Regions from separate parts of the Homo sapiens genome. Here region 1 is linked to region 2. Evidence: promoter capture Hi-C in human tissues and cell types (Jung and others, 2019). All regions are on one chromosome and are shown on one strand. Each heading gives the region's core, a stretch centred on a gene start or on the middle of the fragment in contact. The rest is flanking DNA. Distances are from core to core; before and after follow the strand shown. Region 1 overlaps TMEM150B (transmembrane protein 150B). Region 2 holds the start of RPS9 (ribosomal protein S9).

Region 1 (5,537 bases), core at 326-2,825, 1.1 Mb before region 2:
TGTATGTAGGACTTCGTTGACTTCCAGGACGTTGGGATAATTTTCTGCCAGCCCCTCTCCCCAGCTTATTTAATGATGAAATTACTGGTCCAGGCGCAGTGGCTCATGCCTGTAATTCCAGCACTTTGGGAGGCGGAGGCAGGCGGATCGCCTGAGGTGAGGAGTTTGAGACCAGCCTGGCCAACCAACATGGTGAAACCCCGTCTCTCCTAAAATATACAAAAATTAGCCGGGCATGGTGGCAGGCGACTTAATCCCAGCTACGTGGGAGGCAGAGGCAGGAGAATCATTTGAACCTGGGAGGTGGAGGTTGCAGTGAGCCGAGATCGAGCCATTGCACTCAAACCTGGGGGATAAGAGTGAGACTTCTCTCAAAAAAAAAAAAAAAAAAAAAAAAAAAAAAGAAGAAGAAGATGAAATTACTGGCCGGGCTCTGTGGCTCACGGCTGTAATCCCAGCACTTTGGGAAGCCAAGGTAGGTGGATCACCTGAGGTCAGGAGTTGGAGACCAGCCTGGCCAACACGGTAAAACCCCATCTCTACTAAAAATACAAAAAATTAGCTAGGGGTGGTGGCAGGTGCCTGTAAGCCCAGCTACTCAGGAGACTGAGGCAGGAGAATTGCTTGAACCCGGGAGGCAGAGGTTGCATTGAGCCGAGACCATGCCATTGCACTCCAGCCTGGGCTGCAAGAGTGAGACTCAGTCTCAAAAAAGAAAAGAAAAGAAAAAAGAAATTAGTGAGGCTGGGCACAGTGGTTCATGCCTGTAATCCCAGGACTTTGGAGGCTGAGGCTTGAGCCCAGGAGTTCAAGACCAGCCTGGACAACATAGCAAGACTCTGTCTCTACAAAAAATAAAGAATTAGCCAGGCATGGTGGCGTGAACCTGTAGTCCCAGCTATGCAGGAGGCTGAGGTGGGAAGATGGAGGATTGCTTGAGCCCAGGAGGTCGAGGCTGCAGTGAGCTGTGATTGTGCCACTGCACTCCAGCCTGGTGAACAGAGTGAGACCTTGTCTCCAAAAAGAAATGACTGAGATTTACTCATTCTTCATGTTAGGCACATTGATTGAGCATTTGGCAGCCATTGGCAGCAGGCTTTCCATTTTGTACATGACTTCATTCCATCTCCATGAAGACTCTAGCTAGGTCACTCATTGCCCATGGACCACAGAGAATATATTTATATATATACATATATTGGAGATGGAGTCTTGCTCTGTCACCCAGGCTGGAGTGCAGTAGTGCGATCTTGGCTCACCGCAACCTCCGCCTGCTGGGTTCAAGCGATTCTCCTGCCTCAACCTACCAAATAGCTGAGACTACAGGCACCTGCCACCAGGCCTGGCTAAATTTTTTTTGTATTTTTAGTAGAGATGGGATTTCACCATATTGGCCAGGCTGGTCTTGAACTCCTGACCTCAAATGAGCCACCCACCTCAGCCTCCCAAAGTGCTCCACAACTATTTATTTATTTGAGACAGAGTCTTGCTCTGTGGCCCAGGCTGGAGTGCAGTGGTGAGATCTTGGCTTACTGCAACCTCCATCTCCCGGGCTCAAGTGATTCTCCTAACTTCAGCTTCCAGAGTAGCTGGGATTACAGGCGCTCACCACCACGCCCGGCTACTTTTTGCATTTTTAGTAGAGATAAGGTTTCACCATGTTGGCCACGCTGGTCTCAAACTCCTGACCTCAAGTGATCTGCCTACCTTGGCCTCCCTAAGTGTTGGGATTACAGGCATGAGCCACTGTGCCCAGCCCTCAACCTATTATTATTATCTTGCTCCTCTAAGGAGTATTTTTAGACATTTCCCCCTGGTTCTCCCCTCTTCCCATGAAATTTTAAGTATTTATTTTATTTATTTATTATTTGTTTATTTATTTTTGAGATGGGATCTTGCTCCGTTGCCCAGGCTGGTGTGCGATGGTGCCATCTCAGCTCACTACAACCTCTGCTTCCTGGGCTTAAGTAATCCTCCAGCCTCAGCCTCCTGAGTAGCTGGGATTACAGGCCTGAGCCACCATGACCGGCTAATATTTGTATTTTTTTTTTTCTTGAGATGGAGTCTCACTCTTGTTGCCCAGGCTGGAGTGCAATGGTGCGATCTTGGCTCACTGCAACCTCTGCCTCCTGGGTTCAAGTGATTCTCCTGCCTCAGCCTCCCAAGTAGCTGGGATTACAGGTGCCCGCCACCACGCCTAGCTAATTTTTTGTATTTTTAGTAGAGACAGGGTTTCACCATGTTGGCCAGGCTGGTCTCGAACTCCTGACCTCAAGTGATCTACCCGCCTTGGCCTCCCAAAGTGCTGAGATTACAGGTGTGAGCCACTATGCCTGGCAATATTTGTATTTTTTGTAGAGACGAGGTTTTGCCATGTTGCTCAGGTGGGTCTTGAACTCCTGAGCTCAAAGTGATCTGCCTGCTTCACCTTCCAAAGAGCTGGGATTACAGATGTGAGCCACCGCACCAGGCCAAAATTTTAAGTATTTTAAAATTTTAATGGAATATGTGCTATGTATCCGTGAGTCACATACAATTGTAATATTTAAGAATTTTTCACCTGCAAGACCAATTTTTGGGGAAATGTCTGTCCCCCGCCTTGAGAATGCAAGATTTATCCCACTCATATTTACTGAGCATCTACTATGTGCCCATCACTGTTCTAGGAATTGAGGCCACAGCAGTGAACAACAGATTTCAATGCCTGCTCTCGTGGAGCTGACAATAGCTGATGTGCTTAATAAGCCCATCACTGGGTATGGAAAGTTGGTGACCACTGTCTACTGCATTGGTGAAGGGCCCTGGCCCCTCTGGTGCCCCTTACCCTCCTTCCCAGAGTCTCCCTCCCAACTTCTCCCTTCTCCTCCCAGGAAAAGAACCAGCGGCCTACGCACTTGGCAGGGGCCTTCCTTGCCTTCATCTTGGGTAACGTCTACTTCTGGCTGCAGCTCCTCCTGTGGAGGCTGAAGAGGCTGCCCCAGCCCGGGGCTGCCTGGATTGGGCCCCTCCGCCTGGGCCTCTGCAGCGTCTGCACCATCCTCATTGTGGCCAGTATCCTTCTTGTATCCGGGGTAGGGCTTGGAGGTGGCTCTTCACTGGAGTTGGTCTTCCTGCCTGGCTGTCTGTCACTGGGGATGTCTCTTCCTTTCTCTGGGCCTCACTCTTTGCACAGGATTATGGCTTTGTCATCGAGAATGCCGACTTCGGGGTCAGGTTGCCCAGGTTGGAAGCCCCTGTCCTCCACACAGCAGCTGGGGGAAACTTCCGCGGGCTGTTACTTCTCGGTGTCAATGGTTTCGTCATCCCTCAAATGTGGATAACGACAGGGCTGACCTCAGGGTTGTGGAGTGGATAGGATAATAGGCATACGGTGCTTAGATCTGTGCCTGGCACATAGCGAGTGACCAATAGACGCTGGAAGAATGATATACTAAGAACAGTCCCTTGAGGGCACCTGCTCTGTGCCAGGAATCATGTGGTTACGAGTGAAGACGGGTTCAGACAGGAAAAGTCTTTCGGCCAGGATGCGCGTGAGGTTCTGCAATGGAGCTGGTGATAGGCTGCAGGTGGCTTGCGCAGGCTCTGAGAGGCATTCTGTGAACTGCTCGTCCGAACTCCATGTCCTGTGATATCATGTGAGTAGCTTGAAATAGCCATCATGGGAGTATTTATACCACTGTAATTGGCAGATGCCACCAACCAGAGCCAGTTGTTAAACATTTACTAGCACACCACATGAGGCTTGACTCAATTCCAACTCATTTCTGAGCCATCCCCAGAACCGAGGCACTTTCCACCAGCACAGTGTACTTCTAGATGGGTCAGGTCACTCTCTGAGGCCTCAGTTTCCATATCCATAAAATGGATTTGCTTTTATCATCATGATTATTTTTATTTATTTATTTTTGAGACAGAGTCTTGCTCTGTCGCCCAGGCTGGAGTGCAGTGGCGTGATCTCAGCTCACTGCAACCTCCGCCTCCCGGGTTCAAGCGATTCTCCTGCCTCAGCCTTCCACGTAGCTGGGACTACAGGCACCTGCCAACCACACCTGGCTAATTTTTTTTTTTTTTTTTTTGAGACGGAGTCTCGCTCTGTCACCTAGGCTGGAGTGAAGTGGCGTGATCTTGGCTCACTGTAAGCTCCGCCTCCCAGGTTCATGCCATTCTCCTGCCTCAGCCTCCTGAGTAGCTGGGACTACAGGCGCCAGCCACCATGCCCAACTAATTTTTTGTATTTTTAGTAGGGACAGGGTTTCACCATGTTAGCCAGGATGGTCTTGATCTCTTGACCTTGTGATGCGCCCACTTTGGCCTCCCAAAGTGCTGGGATTACAGGTGTGAGCCACCGTGCCTGGCCTTTTGTATTTTTAGTAGAGACGGGGTTTCATCATATTGGCCAGGCTGGTCTCGAACTCCTGACCTCATGATCCACCTGCCTTGGCCTCCCAAAGTTCTGGGATTGCAGGCATGAGCCACCATGCCCGGCCTATTATTATTATTATCTTGTTATTATTATTTTTTGAGATGGAGTCTCACTCTGTCACCCAGGGTGGAGTGCAGTGGCATGATCTTGGCTCACTGCAACCCCCACCTCCCAGTTTCAAGCAATTCTTGTGCCTCAGCCTCCCAAGTAGCTGGGACTACAGGCATGCACCACCACACCTGGCTAATTTTTGTGTTTTTAGTAGAGATGGGGTTTCACCATGCTGGGCAGGCTGGTCTCGAACTCCTGACCTCAGGTGATCTGCCCGCCTCGGCCTCCCAAAGTGCTGGGATTACAGGTGTGGGCCACTGTGCCCAGCCTACAGTGATTAATTCTGATAGGTAGAGTGTAGAGTGAGAGAAAGGAGGGGCTGAAAACCCAGCCTTGGGGGGTCTTTCTCATTTGTGGGGAGGCCCAGAGTGTGCAGGCATTCAGAAGAGAGTACAGAGAAACCAGCTAAGGCCCTGTGTTGGTTGTATTAAGTGCATCCGTTTCTTGGAAATTTTCTCAGCAAAATGGAAATGGTGATCGTATTTCCTGGAGTGACAAAGTGTATCTTCACAAAATAGTTGAGAGGGCTGGCCCCTCAGCCCGGCCTATAGTGACTTGGGGTATGAGACCATTAGGTCTCCTTTGCAGGGGCCCTGATGGTGATAAGATCCAGCCCAGATCTTCTAAACTAGCCCTGATGATCAGTTTAGCCACAGGGGCCTTCATTCTGTGGGACTCAGTAGTCTCTTGGGTGGGGTAGGTGGGGGAGGGAACCATAAAGACAGCTAGCTGAGTGTCGTAAGGGATGGACGTCTGTAAAGACGGGCCTGAGCCTGGCCGGATTCTGAGCCTGGCCTTGCAGAAGGAGCTGCTCGTGGGCTGGGAGGTTGAGGGCACACTGCAGGTACACGCACCGAGCAGAAAGACCAGCCCAGGGAGGAGTGAGGCTGCTGGCAGGGCCAGGGCTGAGGATTCTCTAAAATTAGGGATCAGAGGCTTGGGTTTCTGCCTGGGGGTGATAGAGAGCCATAGGAAGTTTACGGTCAGGCATTGTGGCTCATGC
Region 2 (6,019 bases), core at 2,988-5,487:
CAAACCATTCAAGCAAGCTTTCATAAATAGATCTACATGCATCAGGCACTTCTGATATTCCTGGCACTGTTACCCTCCAAGCAAAGTTTGAAAGAAAGCTAGCTCACTTTGTGAGGACCCAAAGTTTTCCCAGTAGGGAGCAGTTACAGGTAGGGAGAATCAAAATGGAAACACCAGCTGTGTGCATTTCCAGCATCCTATGTCATACTATGGCTTCAATTTTTGTTCTTTTTTAACTCAACATCAGAGGATATTTAAACACCTGAATATCAAAATACAAAAACATGTCCAAAAGGCAATGAAAATGAGTTTGGGACCATTTACCTCTTTGGACACTTCACGCCTTTTTGTCTTTACATTAGAAAATGGAAACTTAAGCCACGCACAGTCCCTTATGCCTGGCCTATAAACCCAATATTTTGGGAGGCTGAGGCAGGAGGATCAGTTGAGTCCAGAAGTTTGAAACTAGCCTCGGCAACACAGTGAGACCGCATTTGTACCAAAACAAACAAAAAAGTAAAACTAAATTAGCCGGGCATGGTGGTACATGGTGGATTGTGGTCCCAGCTACTAGAGCTGAGGAGGATCACTTAAGCACAGGAGGTCCAGGCTGCAGTGAGCCACGACCATGCCACTGTGCTCCAGCCCGGGAGACAAAGTGAGATCGTCACCATTAGGCAAAACAAAGGCATGATTTTAAAAAAATGTTTCACATTTATTATCATTTTTGAGACAGAGTTTCGCTCTCGTTGCCCAGGCTGGAGTGCAATGGCGTGATCTCGGCTCACTGCAAACTCCGCCTCCTGGGATTCTCCTGCCTCAGCCTGGGATTAAAGGCATGCGCCACCACGCCCCGCTAATTTTGTATTTTTTCAGTAGAGACTAAGGGGTTTCTCCACTTTGGTCAGGCTAGTCTCAAACTCCCGACCTCGGGTGATCCGCCTGCCTCTGCCTCCCAAAGTGCTGGGATTACAGGCATGAGCCACTGCACTCAGGCCCACATTTATTGAACCATCTATCTCCTGAAAAAGAACAGGAGAGTCAGCCACAGGCAAAACCTTTAAGTATGAAGACAATAGTTTTCAACAGCACAATAAACCTTACACCTTCAACAAAAGCATGTCCTACTGCTGAGGCTCCACTGGGCCAATGCACCAAGAGAATTTAAAATGCTTTAAAAATGCAAACCAGGGAGGACCTCAGTGGGAAACAGGTCCTTGTCATCATACAAGGCAGTTAGGTATTACAATGCCTTCATTTCTGATCTGAAAAATGGACATGACTCCTACATTTCTTCACAGTTGTGCTGGGGGGTGGGGGGGGAGTTCGTGTTGTTTTGTGTCTCGCTGTCACCCAGTGCAGTGCCGCGGATCTCGGCTCACTGCAGTCTCTGTCTCCCAGGTTCAATCAATTCTCCTGCCTCAGCCTCCCGAGTAGCTGGGATTATAGGCACACCACCATGCTCGGCTAATTTTTGTATTTTTCGTAGAGATGGAATTTCACCACGTTGGCCAGGCTGGTCTCTGACTTGAGGTCTCCTGACCTCAAGTGATCCGACCACCTCGGTCTCCCAAAGTGCTGGGATTACAGGCATGAGCCACCACGCCTGGCCTCTATCTGTTGATTATTAACTGCCAGCCAAATGTTGGCGGCTGTTCAGTCTTAACAGACGAGACTCAGAATCTCGCTAGTCACACATCTTAGTGGGAAAGGCAGGATCTGAATCAAGGCAGGATTACACCAAAGAGCAAACATCCAAGCTCCTCCTTCCTGTCCCTGACTAGGCTAGATGGCTTCATTTACTAGAAAGTGTACTCACCTGAACAACTGTGTACCCCTTGGGAATTTTCACTTCTGCCTTGGAAAACCACAAATAACCCTCAGACACCTGCACCGCTTTCTCACATGACTGTAAGTTTCATTGCAATTAGGATCTATGTCCAGAAAGTCCTCCCTAAAACCAGAACCAGCTATAGCCCACTCCCCACAGAACCCTGGGATGAATTCCCACCCAGCATCAGTATCTATGGGGGAGGGATCTCCAGCACTTTCATGAGATTATCAACGGGGTCTACAAATTGACGAAAAGAATGAAAGGGTCAGGTGCGGTGGCTTACACCTGTAACCCCAGCACTTTGGAAAGCTGAGGTGGATGGATCACTTGAGGTTAGGAGTTGGAAACCATCCTGGTCAACACTGCAAGATCCTGTGCCTATTTAAAGAAAAAGCTTCTAACATCTGCAAGCCTGGGACAAACTGTGATAATCTGTAGCTAAACATGCGCCAGGACTTTCTCAACGCCTAACATGGATGACCACTCTCATGCCTAACAGTCAGGGCTCAGGTGTAGAGACTGCTTTTCACCATAAATCATGACTACCCAAACTCAGGCAAAAGCAGCGTCTCAGGATATACAAATGCCAATCTTGGTCATGCCAATCTGCTGTAGAAAGCACTCCAATAACACCGCATCTCAGAGTAGATTTTAAAACAAGATGGTTAAGATGGTACATTTTCAATTTAATGTGTATTTCACCACAATTAGTAAAGTAAGCCTAAGTCTATGTGATCTGCATGCCCTCCTAAAGTCATCACCTGAAATGCTGTTCCCTGAGACATTTTACAGGTTCTCTCCTGTTCAGGCCTTTGCTAAATACCACCTAAATGTCCTTGACCAGCTTAAAAAAACAAGCACCAGCCTGGACAACATGGTGAAAACCCATCTCCACTAATAATAGAAAATTAGCCAGGCTTGGTGGCCCATGCCTGTGATTCCAGCTACTTAGGAGGCTAAGACAGGAGAATCGCTTGAACTCTGGAGGCGGAGTTTGCAGTGAGCCAAGATTGCGACAACTACACTCCAGCATGGGCAATGGAGCGAGACTCCGTCTCAAAAGTAAAATTAGCCAGGTGTGGTGGCGTGCGCCTGTCTGTAGTCCCAGCTACTTGGGAGGCTAAGATAGGAGAATTGTTTGAACCCAGGAGGCGGGGGTTGCAGTAAGCCGAAATGGCGCCACGGCACTCCAGCCTGGGCAACAGAGCAAGACTCCGTCTCAAAAGACTAAATAAAACGAGAAAACTTAATTAAAAAAACAATAAACCAAGCAAATGTGCAAACCCTGTTATCACCATCACTTAGCCCAGAAATTCCACTTCATAGTCTACTCTCATCCACTAGCAAACAGGCCACATAAACAGAATATAAAGATATAGACGGGTGCCCAGGTGTGCCAGGCCTATCTTTAGCTCTGGTCATTACTAAACTGAAGGTCCAATAACTGGGCAAAAAAGCCACACACCTAAGAAACAGGGCAAAGACTGATCCAGATACACTTTTCCTACTCCACAAGTGCCACTAAAAGTTAGAAGGCTGGTTCCATTTATCCAATGACACAACTCTCATCACTGGAACAGAGGCAACAGAAGGGAGAATGAACCTCACAAGCCCTGCACCCCATCCCTCTGCTGTGGACTCCCATACGCACCTTCGAACAGACGCCGTGGGTCCTTCTCATCAAGCGTCAGCAGTTCCCGGGCGGCCTTGCGGATCTTGGCCAGGGTAAATTTGACCCTCCAGACCTCACGTTTGTTCCGGAGCCCATACTCGCCTGGTGGGGAGAAGGGGGTGGACAAGTGTAGTCCCACGTACTGGCACAACAACTAGACTGGCAGCTTTGGAATCACAAAACCTTCCTAAACCACGAATAGTACCAAATTTAGGGGACGGACTAGATAGAGTACATGGGCACCTTCATCCACGTGCTAACCGCCTCCCGGAAGCCGAACCACTTCCCGGAAGCCTTGGCCACTCACCGATCAGCTTCAGCTCTTGGTCGAGACGAGATTTCTCGAAGGGTCTCCGCGGGGTCACATAAGTTTTGCGACAAACCCAGCTCCGGGCCACTGGCATGTTGGCTCCGCTTCCCCGTCTGCGCCTGCGCGGGAGAGAAGTGTGAGCGTAAGGGATCCAAACGGCGCCTGCGCAGTCCCACAACTACGCCAAAACCTCGCGGAGCCCAGATCCGATCTCGCGAGAATAACCTCCAACGCTCTCATAGTCAGTATCTGCCCCCACAACCGTGCTGCACTCCCGTTCAACCACCCTGCTCTGTTTCCTAACGTCTTTAGCTTACTCATGGAAACTCGGAAGGCCCGGGCCACCATCCAACCCAAACCCTAGAGAAAAAGCACACCACCGCACCTCACCTAAGCAAACCACCCGGTCACTGAGAAAGAGGCGCGGAAGCGCCACGGCTGCGCTCTTATAGTAACGCCGGCGTCTCGTGACGTTTTCACGCACCACGCACGTCAGAGCCAATCAGAAGAGGCGTTGGCTGGCTGAGAAGCAGTGGAGACGTGAGGCTGGGCTAGAGCGGCGTGCTAACCTGGGAGGACTAGGTTTTTTCCGGCCAGGGAGTGGAAACCTGAGAAGTAGGGAGAACCTTCCTTCTCCGCCCCTGGACGGTGGTTTTTCTTTTTCTTTCTGAGACAGGGTCTCGCTCCGTCGCCCAGGCTGGAGTGCAGTGGCGTGATTTCGGCTCACTGAGGCCCCGACCAACCTCTCGGGCTCGAGCGATCCTCCCACCTCCTCCCCAGTAGCTGGGATTACAGGCACACGCCACGACGCCCGGGTAGCATTTTTTTTTTTTAACAGTCGGCGTCTTGCCATGTTGCCCAGGCTGGTCTTGAACTCCCGGCCTCGAGAGAGCCTCCCGCCGTGGCCCCCCCAAAGTGCTGGGATTACAGGCGTGAGCCACCGCGCCCAGCCGAGATTATTTCTGTCACTAACAATAATGTGGCATTCTGGAACGCTATGTGCCACATACTGTTCTAAGAATTTTAAATGTATTTACTCAATCTTCAATACATACTTACAGAGCACTCTCAGAGAAGTTGCCCCCCCACCCATGGTACTATTATTATCAATAGCCACTTAAGGGGTATTAGTACTATTATCAGTAATTTATTTTATTTTTGAGACGGAGTTTTTCGCTCTCGTCACCCAGGCTGGAGTGCAGTGGTGCGATCTCGGCTCACTGCAACCTCCGCTTCCCGGGTTCAATCGATTCTCGTGCCTCAGCCTCCCGAGAAGCTGGGACTACAGGCGCCCACCACCATGCCCGGCTAATTTTTAAATTTTTAGTAGAGACGGGGTTTTGAACTCCTGGTCTCCAACGCCTGACCTCAAGTGATCCACCCGCCTCAGCCTCCCAAAGTGCTAAGATTACAGGTGTGAGCCACCGCGCCTGACCTAGAGTTCTCTTTTTATATATAGTCTGGTTATTGTCTGTCTGTACACCCATCTCTCCACTCCGAATGCGATGGTCTGTCTCCACAGCTCGTGTTCTTCAGTTGTCTTCCCTACGCTGCTGCCTCGGCAGTCACTATCTCCTCAGGAAGCAGTCCCACCCGCCCCTTTCTCTTCCACGGCATCCACACCATCCGGATGCCTGGATTCAAATGCCACGTCACCACTTGCCAGCTGCAGTGCCTTCGACAAGTTTCTCAATCACTCTGTGCCTCAGCGTCCTCCTCTGTAAAACGGCGAATGATGGTAGCGCCTACCTCATAAGCTTGTGAGGATTAAGTGAGAGTCTATCCAGTGTTGAGGAGAGTGGCATAAATAAAGCGCCTAGTGGTAGCTACCATCGTCATTATTGTCATCTGCATTGTACTTCCATATCTTACAAACTACCTTGTTCAGTTTTATGGGTTTTTTGTTTGTTTGTTTTGTTGTTTTGAGACGGGGTTTTGCCATATTGCCCAGGCTGGTCTTGAACTCCTGGGCTCAAGTGATCCACTCGCCTCAGCCTCCCCAAGTGCTGGGATTACAGGTGTAAGCCACCATGCCTGGCCAAATTTTATGCATTTTTGTATCTTGAACACGCGTATATTATTCATCTGGAAGGGGGAAACGTGGAAGGAAAAAACTTCCATAAGTTTTCACTCCCTTCAGGATGAAGTCCAAGCTCCACAAATTCCGGGTGCCTCGTGATTACAGAGATGGTTTTATAATGGT

Evidence for each region. Contacts are between HindIII fragments. The study calls those that stand out against the background at their distance.
Region 1: a fragment that was not itself captured here is called in contact with the fragment with the promoter of RPS9 in region 2 in 1 of the 25 tissues and cell types used here (dorsolateral prefrontal cortex).

What each region holds. Positions count from the first base shown.
Region 1 is chr19:55,314,300-55,319,836 of GRCh38, reverse strand. TMEM150B (transmembrane protein 150B) reads left to right here. Exons shown (of 8, transcript NM_001282011.2): 7 at 2,871-3,051. Among named protein-coding and RNA genes, the nearest start is that of TMEM150B, 8.3 kb to the left of the region's middle. The HindIII fragment of the contact is 7,983 bases long and covers 1-5,537 here.
Region 2 is chr19:54,199,076-54,205,094 of GRCh38, reverse strand. It overlaps RPS9 (ribosomal protein S9), which reads right to left and starts at 4,237. Exons shown (of 5, transcript NM_001013.4): 1 at 4,207-4,237; 2 at 3,814-3,935; 3 at 3,486-3,608. The coding sequence starts at 3,910. RefSeq lists a silencer at 3,924-4,417 and an enhancer at 4,180-4,849. The HindIII fragment of the contact is 8,370 bases long and covers 1,124-6,019 here.